Regions from separate parts of the Homo sapiens genome. Here regions 1 and 3 are each linked to region 2. The links are contacts of gene promoters, found by promoter capture Hi-C in blood cells and fetal thymus (Javierre and others, 2016). All regions are on one chromosome and are shown on one strand. Each heading gives the region's core, a stretch centred on a gene start or on the middle of the fragment in contact. The rest is flanking DNA. Distances are from core to core; before and after follow the strand shown.

Region 1 (3,724 bases), core at 785-3,284, 99 kb after region 2:
AGTTGTCCCTCAAATTGAAATTTTTGGGTCCAGAATCCTGATGGTTTTCCTATAAGCTCCAGTCTTGTGCTCCACACAGGACTGTTGTATAAAGAATTTGCCCAGCTTCTATTCTGTACTATTTGAAATTAATTTGGATGGGCTCAGGCATTTTCACTGGCTTTCAATTAGCATGTCCTATAAATATTGCCTGATAGGAAGATTTATATGTATTCTGTTTAAGTAGGGGAAACATTCGCCAGTCAGACGTAATAAATATCTCCATAATGCATTCAGGTGAAGGAGACACACTACTGTACATAAAGTACATTCAGACATTCTTATTTTAATCCAGAGTTTTACCTTGATCCATAAACTCTTGTGTTGTTATGTCTTTCCAGTATAACTGTAGCTCCTGTTAGGACTTCACCAACAGATTTGTAAGTTCTGTGCATGGGTCTCTCGTGGAAACATCTCTATGCTTAACTATTTTATCCATTTAAAAGCATTTGACTCTGGGTCCCCAGCTAGGGACTAGCAAGGAATCTAGGTCTTCTCTTCAGGCCTTATCTAAGCATTGGCTTAGGCAAGTTGAAGTTAGATTTTTCTTAGTCATTTTTGCCTTCCAGTTTTTAAAGTTTCCTCAAACTAGGGTGAATTGCCGGGTACAGTAGCTCACTCCTGTAATCCCAGCACTTTGGGAGGCCGAGGCTGGCAGATCACCTGAGGTTGAGAGTTTGAGACCAGCCCGACCAACATGGAGAAACCCCATCTCTCCTAAAAGTACAAAATTAGCCAGGCATGGTGGCGCATGCCTGTAATCCTAGCTACTCGGGAGGCTGAGGCAGGAGAATTGCTCGAACCTGGAAGGTGGAGGTTGCGGTGAACTGATATGCCATTGCACCCCAGCCTGGGCAATAAGAATGAAACTCTATCTCAAAACAAACAACAACAAAACAAAAACAAAAACAAAAAAAAACTAGGGTGAATAAAGCAGATTTGTTTAGGGCTCTTTAATGGAAGGAGACCAGCAGGGGCTCATTGGTCCACTCAACCTCTGAGAGTGCTGCAGTGTGACCTTTGTTTTGGCTTCAATATTTTATCCCATTTCTCAATAACTGTTTAAAGATTTACACCCAGCTGGGACTAGTCTCTTGAATCTCCTCTTTCTTTTTCTCCATTGTCTTATGAATCTTTATTGCCTGTTATTTTGGTAAGACTTTTACATATGGCAGTGGGTCTGTGACTACTGGCTATAACTGGATCTGGCCAAAAACCAGGCTTGGCCCAGCATTAGGATTTGCGTTTCTGTTTCGCTATTCCAGGTAACAATAATCAAGGGATTATATAGTAACTTTATTTATTGTTTATGTAACATTTTCTTATGTATCCAGTGACCCAGGCACCCAGGAGTTGGATCCATCATTTCTCAGTCCCACTGGTAACTTTTATTTCTACTAATTGATTGTAATACAGCTGTAGTTGGAGCTATTATTTGTAAATTCCACTGGTAATGTTTACCTCCATTAAATGATTATAGCACAGCTATAGTTTTATACCATGAGTGGCCTTGTAACCATCCAGGAAACAAAGGTTTGTCATCCCTCATTCTTTCTCTTCATTCAGTGAGTCAGCTTCAGCAAGTTAATGTCATTCTTGTGCCCACTTCCGATACCATTGCTGCAAGCTTGAGGGATTCCAAAACCAACCTCAGGTTTGATAATTTGCTAGAAGAACTCACAGAACTCATTATATTCATGGCTATAGTTTGTTACGTAGAAATGATACACATTAAAATCAGCCAAGGGAAGAGAGACATAGGGTGCAGAATCCAGGAGGAGTCCAAATGTAGAGTTTCTGATTGCCCTCTCTCTGTGGTATCATAGACAACATTAGCTCATTTCAATCACAGTGTATGACAGTACTCACAGAATATTGTCAAACAGGGAATCTCAGCAAAGCCTTTGGTGATCATTGTTTGTATTGGGATTTGATCACATACCACCCACATGGCTGACCTTTAGTCTCCTGCTGCTTCCAGAATGTCAAACTATTACCTTTAGTTATTCCTTTCTCTGGAGGTCACAGCTATTACTTTGTGGCCCAAAGCCATACTGTGTGCTGTTATATAGTAGGGTCTATGTGCTCATTATAATGATATGTTCCTTTGGTAGCATTTTCCTGCACAGACCATTCCCATTTCATTATGGAATTCTTCTGGGTACTTCCCATTGTAAATCACATTTTTAGATAGTCCAGTGGCCAAAGCCCCCAGACGAACAAAAACACTCGTATCAGCCAAGACATGCCAGAGGCCTAGTGATTGTTTCCCAGTAGCTGAGGGCAGAAGCCAGACCTCTTTCAATAAGGTTGATCTTTCACTGTATTAACACTGTATATAAAGGACTTTTATAAAAGCTTGTAGTTATGGTGTTATTGTCATCATCCAGTTTAATGCCCTCTTTTTTCCAGTAAGAAAAGAAAGGTCTGGGATAATCATGTTAATTGATTTGTTTACATTTTCATTTTAATTAGTAGCACAACTGAGAGTGAAAATGGAACCCAAATAGTCCATCTTTAGCATAATACTTTTTTTTCTCCTCTAGTGGAGCTTATACCTTGCCAATTATTGAATCTTGAACTCCTGACCTCGTGATCCACCTGCCTCAGCCTCCCAAAATGCTGAGATTACAGGCTTGAGCCACTGCACCTGGCCTGAATTACTGAATCTTACTGAGAATAATCATGGAAAAACATTTGTATTTTTTGATCAACCTAGTTTCAGGAAAAGTCTTAAAAGGAAAACAACCTAATTTTTATTTTAGTTTACTTCTGATCAGACAATTTAAGATTTGGAGATATAAATGAGAATAAACTAAAATTTTTGTGTTCAGGAGGTATAGAGAGTAAGGAGACAGATGTACAAGTGGAAAATGAAACATTCAGTTATAGAATAAAAGTTTATAAAAATGGGACAAATGAAGAGGAAGTGCCTGGCTTGGCTAAGGAAAAGTGATACAGAGGAGGATGAGGCTTGCTATGATTTTAAATGCTGAATTGGCATTTTCTGATCCAAAAAGGTTGGAAGGCGTTGTATGAGAAAACAGGTCCTGATTGGGAAATCCCAAGGTCTTGTGCCAAGCTGGCATAGGTAGAATAATTGTGATGGAGTGGAGTAAGCGGTGATCAAATCATAAAGGGTCTTGTGTTACAATAGAATTTTGGAAATATTCCTCCTGTAGGGAATGGAAAGCCATGGAACCAAAATTATCTGGATTAAATCATCAATTTTGTATTTTAAGTAGGTTGCTATAGCTGTAGTATGGTGGGATTTGAGAGCAGCTAGCACATTATCCTGTAATTCATCCCTTTGTTTGATCTAGGTGAGACTTGGATAAATTTGTCTGGTAAAACATGTGCTCGGCCACGTGTGAGGTGGCCTGTACTCCCAGCACTTAGGGAAGCTGAGGCAGGCAAATCACTTGAGTCCAAGAGTTCGAGACCAGCCTGAGCAATATGGTGAAACCCCATCTCTACAAAAAATACAAAAAATTAGCCAGGTGTAGTGGTGCCTTCCTGTAGTCCCAGCTCCTTAGAAGGCTGAGGTGGGAGGATTTCTTGAGCCCAAGAGTTTGAGGCTGCAGTGAGCTGTGATCCAGCCTGGACAACAGAGTGAGAGCCTGTCTCAAAAAACAAACAAAAAACCTGCTTATCTTTGCTTCCTCCAAAATCGCACCAAGATAGC
Region 2 (3,980 bases), core at 139-2,638:
GACAAGGGCCCGCCACGGAGCATTTGCTGTTCTTATAATAAAGCAGTGACGAATTTAAATCTGTGAATAGCTTAAACATGTAATTAGTATCACCACAAATGAGAAGAATGAAAGGATCACATTTTCCCCCTCGTTTTCCCTTGAAGTCATGAACGGTTGGTTCTGCTGTGACTTTGGGGCTTAGTTTTCAGTAGAAGTGTTGTCCTGCTCTGCTGCTGTTACTGCGGGACTGCTAATTCAGGCTAACTCAGGCGGCGGGCGCTGTGTGCTCTGAACATCAAACCGCGGGTGAGGCGTCAACCCAGGAGTTTATTTTGTGATCAGAGTGGAACCACTACACTTCACTTTCCCCTCACCTCCACCTCTGAGGGAGCAACGAATACAAAGGTAGACCCCCAAAAGCTTTGAATAGCTGTCGCCTACTTTCCCGCGGCCCTCTTCATTTTTTCGTCTCCCGCTGCCGCCGCCGCCGCCGCCTCTGGATCTGGACGGACCCAGTGGCCGCTGCCGCCTCCGCAGGGCCGGGCACTACTTTCCGTCTGCGGTGGTTCCGCCGACCCTCCCGCGGCTGCTGCCCCGCCCGCGCCGGCGGAAGGAGACGCGCTGCGCGCCGCCGCTGCCCGGGGAGGGAGACGGAGCAGTACTGGCCGCGGCGCGGTGGCGGCGGCTGGGCTGCCTCGGGGTCTTCGACGGCCGCGTTGGGTTTTGTTTCAGTTTTCTTGTGTGGCGCTGCAGCACAAGGCTGCGAATCTGGGAGTCCAAAGGAGTGTTTGCGGGGAGGGCCCGAGGTCGCTGTGTCCGGGGCAGAGCGGCCGGTTCGTCCCGAGTCTGCGCTCTTTCGGGTCCGCTGCTGTGTCCCGGTCCGCTCTCCTCAGCATGAGCGGCCGGTAGGAGTGAGGTTTCATCGGTTCCCTCGCACTGGAGGAGGCAGCGGCCGCTTCGGCAGCGACAGCTATGGCGGTAGAGACGCGGGCAGAGCTGGTGGGTAAGCGGTTCCTGTGTGTGGCGGTCGGCGACGAGGCACGTTCGGAGCGCTGGGAGAGCGGACGCGGCTGGCGAAGCTGGCGAGCGGGGGTCATCCGAGCCGTGTCACACAGGGACAGCCGCAATCCGGACCTGGCGGTAAGAGAGTCAGCGCCCCCCTTTTCCCCTGCCGCGCCCGCACCCGGCTCTCGCAGACGTACCTTGCAGGCTTCCCTCTGGCGCCTCGCTCAGCCCGGCCAACTGGCGGTCACGCCCCTCTGCTGAACCCTTGGCGCGTTTGCCCGCATCCCTTGCCTGGGTCCCTGCGTCTCTCCGAGCGGCTTCCCCTGTGGAGGTGGTGTCGGAGCAGGACTCCCGGGATAGCCGCGGAGGCTGCCCTGGCCCCCATCCCGGAGGGGTCGACCGCGGCTCCCCGCTGTGGCGCCTGGGCGGCCACGGAGACCTCCCCGAAAGGCGGAGCCGCGAGTCCGGCGCCGCGCGGGCAGGTGGGGGTAGGGGGCGGACCACTCATGGCGACAGGCGGCCAGCTTCCCTGGTATCTCTTTTCTTGGAAAAGTCTTCATAGTGCTGTAGCTCGAGACTTAAAACTTATCCTGTAAGGTTGCTGAAGGGGAGGGAGAAAAGAAAAGAGACCTTCCCACACAGTCCGGGGATTCCTATGTGTTTTAGAGGCAGAGGCCGTGGTGGTGGCTGTGCCCGGATTCATCCTCTCCTTAATAGATGCTTGGCTTTCTAACCGTAAAGGATAAAAGTGAAAAATTTTGGTATGGAGGGTAATCTCTCTTTCTGTCCCCAATGTGCTTTTCTTGTTAGAAAGGTATAGTTCTTTGGAGTCAAGCTGTTTCTGGGTTTTATACGATTTTAAATAAGACGAAAAATGTTGTCAATTAAAATGTTAAATGCCATGCAGAATTGATTATCTTTTTTTTTTTTTGGTTTCTTACATGTGACGCTGCCAGTGCTTTCTTTGAGTAGCGTAGGTATGTGCATGATATTGAGCTGTAATATGCTCTGTTGTGTTCCAAGTACATTCTCACTGAGGGACAGCTTGAAGGTAAGGGGCGGAGTAGAGACAAGACATGGACTAGACTTCCAAAGGTTGATTTATGAATACGTAATCTGTGAAATTTATTTGTAATGCCCTGAGCCATTTACTTTTTCAATGAAAACTTCAAATTTAGGAAATTTTTTTCCCTTTGTGTGCATGAAAGCTTACAATTCCAAATTCATTGTAATATTTGTACAGGTATCTACCTAATATTTTTTACCTACCTATTTTAATAGTTTCTGAGTGTGTTTTTGTAAACTCGGGTTTTCCTCACTGTAGTCAATGATATGGTTAATGCGGCATGTATTAATATTGACTCGATATCGCAAAATAGGTGTGTTTTGCTGATAGGTATTTCTAACAGAAAATAGAGGTAGTTTTGAAGGTTTTGGCTGGTTATTTTCGTATAGAAATGTATAATCTTCCTTAAAAAGTATTGGTGATGTTAGTGGTTCTAAAAATTATGGCAGTTCAATTCAGTAACTATTTTTGTTTGTGTAAAAGGCTGAGGTAAGAGGATTGCTAGAGCCCAGGACTTATTAAGAGTCCAGCCTGGGCAACATAGGTGAGACCCCCTCATCTGTAAAAAAGGAAAAAAAAAATTTGTATATATAAATAACTTAATTGCTCTCTTAGTTGGGAATTTAAGTGATTAAAGAGTTAAGTTTGCATATGTTAGTAAGGTATTAAGCTGGATATTAAAAAATAAATTATCTATGGATGGTAGAGATTGACTGGAAAGAATAGGAGTTTCTTCAGGTGATAGAAATGTTTCCTATCCTGATTGTTGGTTACACAGATATATATATTTGTCAAAACTCGTTGAATTGATACTATCTTTGCGTTTCACCATATCTAAATTTTACCAAAAAAAGAAAAATGTATGTTGAACCATACCTATGTGAACCCTTGATGAGTTTTTTTAATCTGTCTTTATTTGAAAATTTGAATATTAATTTAGTTTTTTTAGCCTAGAATCTACCATTTTAGATTTATTCCCAGATTTTCTTACATTCACATTTCTTAAACGAAACTTGGAACAGTTTAGCATTAACATAATGTAATATTCCTGTTCGACTTTGATTACTGCAGAGTAGATTTTAAGTTACATGAAATTAGGCTAGGCACAGTGGCTCACGCCTGTAAACCCAACACTTTGGGAGACTGAGATGGGAAGATACTTGAGCGCAGGAGTTTTGAGACTAGCCTGGGCAACATGGCGAAACCCTGTCCCTACAAAAAATACAGAAATTAGCCGGGCATAGTAGTACAATGCCTGTGGTTCCATCTACTGGGGCGGCTGAGGTGGGAGGATCACCTGAGCTCAGTGAGGTTGAGACTGCAGTGAGCCAAGATTATGCCACTGCACTCTAGCCTGGGCGACAGAGTGAGATCCTGTCTCTAAATAAATAAATAAATATGTAAAAAGAAAGTATATGGAAAATGTTGAATAGGCTAGTTTGTGATTTTTTTTTTAAAGCTACAAATATGTATAATTAAAAACCTGTTAAGTCTACTAGAAGTCCTGGCTGGATACACCAGGCAGGACATGTGCCACAAACCTGTGGCACATGATTTGGAAGGATAATGATAAGAACTTCAAAGTAGTTGAGGGAATATTGTGTCTCAAAGATAATCAGTTATTCTTATTTTGGGTCTTATGTATGAGGAATTGCCACGTGAATTAAATTTCTATAATTGTTTAATTAACGTAATCTTGGTGGTTTAAATGTTATACGCTTATTATTTTGTAGTTCTGGAGATCACAAATAAGACCTGGATCTTGCTGGGCTAAAATCAAAGTGTGGCAAGACTGTTTATTCTAGGAGAGATCCATTTTCTTTCCTTTTCTAGTTTTTAGAAGCTGTCCACATTCCTTGGCTCATGGCCCCCTTCCTCCATCTTAAAAGCCAACCAAGTTGTATCTCTCTGACCGTTTTTCCCTAGT
Region 3 (4,070 bases), core at 1,128-3,627, 120 kb after region 2:
AGAGATTCTCCTGCCTCCGCCGCCGGAGTAGCTGGGATTACAGGTGCCCACACCACGCCTGGCTGATTTTTGTATTTTTAGTAGGGTGGGGGCGTTTCACCACGTTGGCCAAGCTGGTCTTGAACTCCTGATCTCAGGTGATCTACCCATCTCAGCCTCCCAAAGTGCTGGGATTACAGGCATGAGCCACTACGCCTGCCCTGTAATTTCTTTTTTTCTTTTTCTTTTCTTTCTTTTTTTTTTTTTTTGAGATGGACTCTCGCTCTGTTGCCCAAGCTGGAGTGCAGTGGCGCAGTCTTGGCTCACTGCAACTTCCACCTGCTGGGTTCAACAATTCTCCTGCCTCAGCCTCCCAAGTAGCTGGGACTACAGGCGTGCGCCACCATGCCTGGCTAATTTTTTTTGTCTTTTTATTAGAGTCGGGGTTTCACCATGCTGGGCAGGCTGGTCTGGAACTCCTGACCTCGTGATCCACCCGCGTCGGCCTCCCAAAGTGCTGGGATTACAGGCGTGAGCCACCACACCCGGCCCGTAATTTCTTTATTGAAAAATTTTTACAAGGAGGCATAAAGTTGGAGTTGACAAAAATACAAAAATTAGCCAAGCATGGTGGCAGGTACCTGTAATCTTAGCTACTTGGGAGGCTGAGACAGGAGAATTCCTTGAACTTGGGAGGTGGAGGTTGCAGTGAGCTGAGATCATGACACTACTCCAGCCTGGGTGACAGAGTGAGACTCTGTCTCAAAAAAAAAAAAAAAAAAAAATTCTTTTCATTTGTTCTATACTGCAGAATAGTAAAAGCTCATTAAAAATGTCATCCCTGAGGGGCCAACTTTACTTTTGGTGTGAAAATATGTATCATGGAGGGCCGGGGGTGTAGGGGGACCTAAGTCCTGAAATTTTAGGACTTTCACTTTTTCCCAAAACTGTATTACTCATTAGCAGATGAACTTTAAAACTGCCTTTTAAAATGATATTTTAGTTGCGCTAAATTATGGTATGACACTGAATGATACGATAAGTCTCTTAAAAATAGTAGCCAAGTAGATAGACCAATAGACTGTTAAAAGAAAAACTTTCAGACAAATTTTACAATTTAACTGAGCAAGGAAAAATGATTCACAAATTGGGTAGCCCTTAGAGCAGATTCAGAGAGGCTGTGGTACTGCTGCATGGTCTTAGAGAATTTACGGACAGAAAAAGAAAAGTGATGTATAGAAAATGGAAATATGAGGTACAGAAGTGAATTGGTTATAGTTTATTTGCTTTATTTGGCAAAATGAACATGGTTTGAACAGTTGGTTATTCATGAGTGGTTGAAGTATGGCTGCTGTGGTTGGCTGAGATTTAGCTATTGTTACAGAAGCATATTGCTAAGTGAGAATTTGCTTACCTAATAAGTTAGGTTGCAGTTCATACATAAGAACCCAAGTATGCTTTAGGGCTGTTTCAGGCCAGATTTTGATTTAACAAAACTAGTGTCACTCATAGGCTTTAGAGCCTCCTCTTCATTTATCTTATGTTTCCCCTTTTCATGGCTTTATTTTAGTTGCTTCTCAGCTACTCAGAGAAATCTCTGTATCTTGTAGTATCTAATCACACTTTAAAAAAATGATTCATTTCCCAGTGGGCAGAGTAGCACACAGCTGTAGTCCCAGCTACTTGGGTGACTAAGTTAGGAGAATCTCTTGAGGCCAGGAGTTCAAGGCTGTAGTGTTCTATAATTGCACCACTGCATTCCAGCCTGGGCAAGATAGTGAGACCCCATTTACTGATTATAAGATTTAAAAATATCTGCTGCATGATTTGTGAAAAACACAGAAAGTCGTAAGGAGTAAAATAAATCATCTTTAATTTTTTTTAAAGTTAACCACGGTTAAGAGTTGGGTCTGTTTCCTTTTATTCCGTATGTACCTTTTTCCCTGTCTCCTTTAATTAGTACTGAGTTAAAGACCGTGCTTTACTTAGTACTTGAGTATGATTTCTGGAAAAAAAAATTACTGGTTTTATAAAAATGTGTGTACACTAAAATTCATTTATTTTACCATGTACAATTTTTTGAGTTTGGGCAAATTCATAGACTCAGGTAACCACTGCCACAATCAAGATACAAAATAGTTCTCTTACCTTAAAAATTTTCCTGTGCTGCCCCCTTGTAGTTGTCTCCCTACTCCTAACCTCTGGCTAGTTTCTGCATTTTTCAGATCATTGTATAAATGTAATGATAAAGTATATAACCTTTCAAAGCTGGCTTCTTTCTTTCATTCATTAATTTTGAGATTCATTTATGCTGTTCCATAGATTGGTAGTTTGTTCCTTTTTTTTGTTTTTTTTTTTTTTTTTGAGACAAAGTCTCACTCTTGTTCCCCAGGCTGCAGTGCAATGGCACAATCTTGGCTCACTGCAACCTCCCGCCTCCTGGGTTCAAGCGATTCTCCTTCCTTAGCTTCCCGAGTAGCTGGGATTACAGGTGCCTGCCACCACGCCCGGCTAATTTTTGTATCTTTAGTAGAGACAGGGTTTCACCATGTTGGCCAGGCTGGTCTTGAACTCCTGACCTCAGGTGATCCGCCCACCTCGGCCTCACAAAGTATTGGGATTACAGGCGTTAGCCACTGCACCCAGCCAGTTTGTTCCTTTTATTAATGAGTATTCTGTTGTATGGATATACCACAGTTAGATTATCCATTCACCCGCTAACAGATACCCATTCTACTTTTGAGTGATTTTGAATCATGCTCCTAAAAACATACATATACAGATTTTTGTGTGAACATACATTTTTATTTTATTTGGGCAGATATCTAGGAGGGGTATTGCTGGATTGTATGGTAAGAATATATTTAATTTTATAAATAGCAGCTGCCAAACTATTTTCCAGAGTAGCTGTACTATGTTTAATTCCCACTTGAAATGTTTGAGAGTTCCAGTTGATCTGCATCCTCACCAGAACTTGGTATTACTAGGGTTGACTTTTATTTTTTATAGGCATACTGTTAGATATGTAGTGGTACAGCATTGATTTAATTTTTTTTCCCCTTGTGGTAATAGGTATTGAATACTATTGGTGAACTTTTTTACCGTCTATTTTTTTTTTGGAGACATGCTTGTTTAAATCATTTTTTGTTGTTTTTCTTATTTTTAAGTTGTAATGGTTTCTTTTCAACTTTGAATGTATGTCCTCTTTCAGATACATGGCCTTCTACCAGTCTGTAGCAAAAGATCTTAATTATCATGAAGTTTATGTTTTTATTTCTTTCATGGGTCAGATTTTGGTGTCATACCTAAGAACTCATTGCTGTGATCACAAAGGTTTTTTTCAGTTCTCTTTTACGAATAGCCATGCATCACTTAATGGAGGGGATACATTCTGAGAAATGTGTCCTTAGGTGATTTCTTTGCTGTGTAAACACCACAGAGTGTTCTTACACAAACCAAGATGGTTTGCCTACTATATACTTAGGCTATATGGTATGGCCTGTTGTTCTGAGGCTACAAACCTGTGTAGCATGTTACTGTACTGAATATTTTAGGCAATTGTAACACAATGGTAAGTTTTTGTGTATCTAAACATAGAAAAGGTACAAAAAAATATGATATAAAAGGTAAAGGAAATACTATACAGGTTACTTACCATGAATGGAGCTTGCAAGACTGGAAGTTGCTGTAGGCATGTCAGTGAATGAGTGGGAAGAGAATGTGAAGGCCTAGAATGTTACTGTACACTACCGTAGACTTTATAAATGCTGTATACCTAGGCTATCCTATATTTGTTTTGTTTGGTTTTGTTTCTTGAGACAGGGTCTCTATCTGCTGCCCGGGCTGGAGTGTAGTGTTGCTGTCTTGGCTCACTGCATGCTTGACCTCCCAGGCCCAAGTGATCCTCCCACCTCAGCCTCCCAAGTAGCTGGGAGTACAGGCACACACCACCACACCTGGCTAATTTTTGTAATTTTTGTAGAGATAGGGTTTTGCCACATTACCCAGGCCGGTCTTGAACTGCTGAGCTCCAGTGATCTACCCACCTCAGCCTCCCAAAGTTATGGGATTATAGTTGTGAGCCATTACGC

Evidence for each region. Contacts are between HindIII fragments. The CHiCAGO score rates a contact against its expected background, and 5 or more counts as called.
Region 1: a contact is called between a fragment that was not itself captured here and the fragment with the promoter of JMJD1C-AS1 in region 2, in 2 of 17 cell types (M2 macrophages and endothelial precursors). The highest score is 7.1, in M2 macrophages.
Region 3: a fragment that was not itself captured here is called in contact with the fragment with the promoter of JMJD1C-AS1 in region 2 in 3 of 17 cell types (M1 macrophages, M2 macrophages and erythroblasts); the score reaches 7.3 in M1 macrophages.

Annotation. Positions count from the first base shown.
Region 1 is chr10:63,364,460-63,368,183 of GRCh38, reverse strand. The region is part of intron 2 of JMJD1C (jumonji domain containing 1C); the gene reads left to right. Among named protein-coding and RNA genes, the nearest start is that of MIR1296, 6.7 kb to the left of the region's middle. RefSeq lists an enhancer at 1,777-2,278. The HindIII fragment of the contact is 731 bases long and covers 1,669-2,399 here.
Region 2 is chr10:63,462,637-63,466,616 of GRCh38, reverse strand. JMJD1C-AS1 (JMJD1C antisense RNA 1) reads right to left here and starts at 1,388. Exons shown (of 1, transcript NR_027182.1): 1 at 54-1,388. It overlaps JMJD1C (jumonji domain containing 1C), which reads left to right and starts at 640. Exons shown (of 26, transcript NM_032776.3): 1 at 640-1,122. The coding sequence starts at 955. RefSeq lists enhancers at 178-227, 678-847, 928-997, 619-1,408 and silencers at 498-647, 1,188-1,527. The HindIII fragment of the contact is 1,793 bases long and covers 405-2,197 here.
Region 3 is chr10:63,343,762-63,347,831 of GRCh38, reverse strand. The region is part of intron 2 of JMJD1C (jumonji domain containing 1C); the gene reads left to right. Among named protein-coding and RNA genes, the nearest start is that of MIR1296, 27 kb to the left of the region's middle. The HindIII fragment of the contact is 5,906 bases long and covers 1-4,070 here.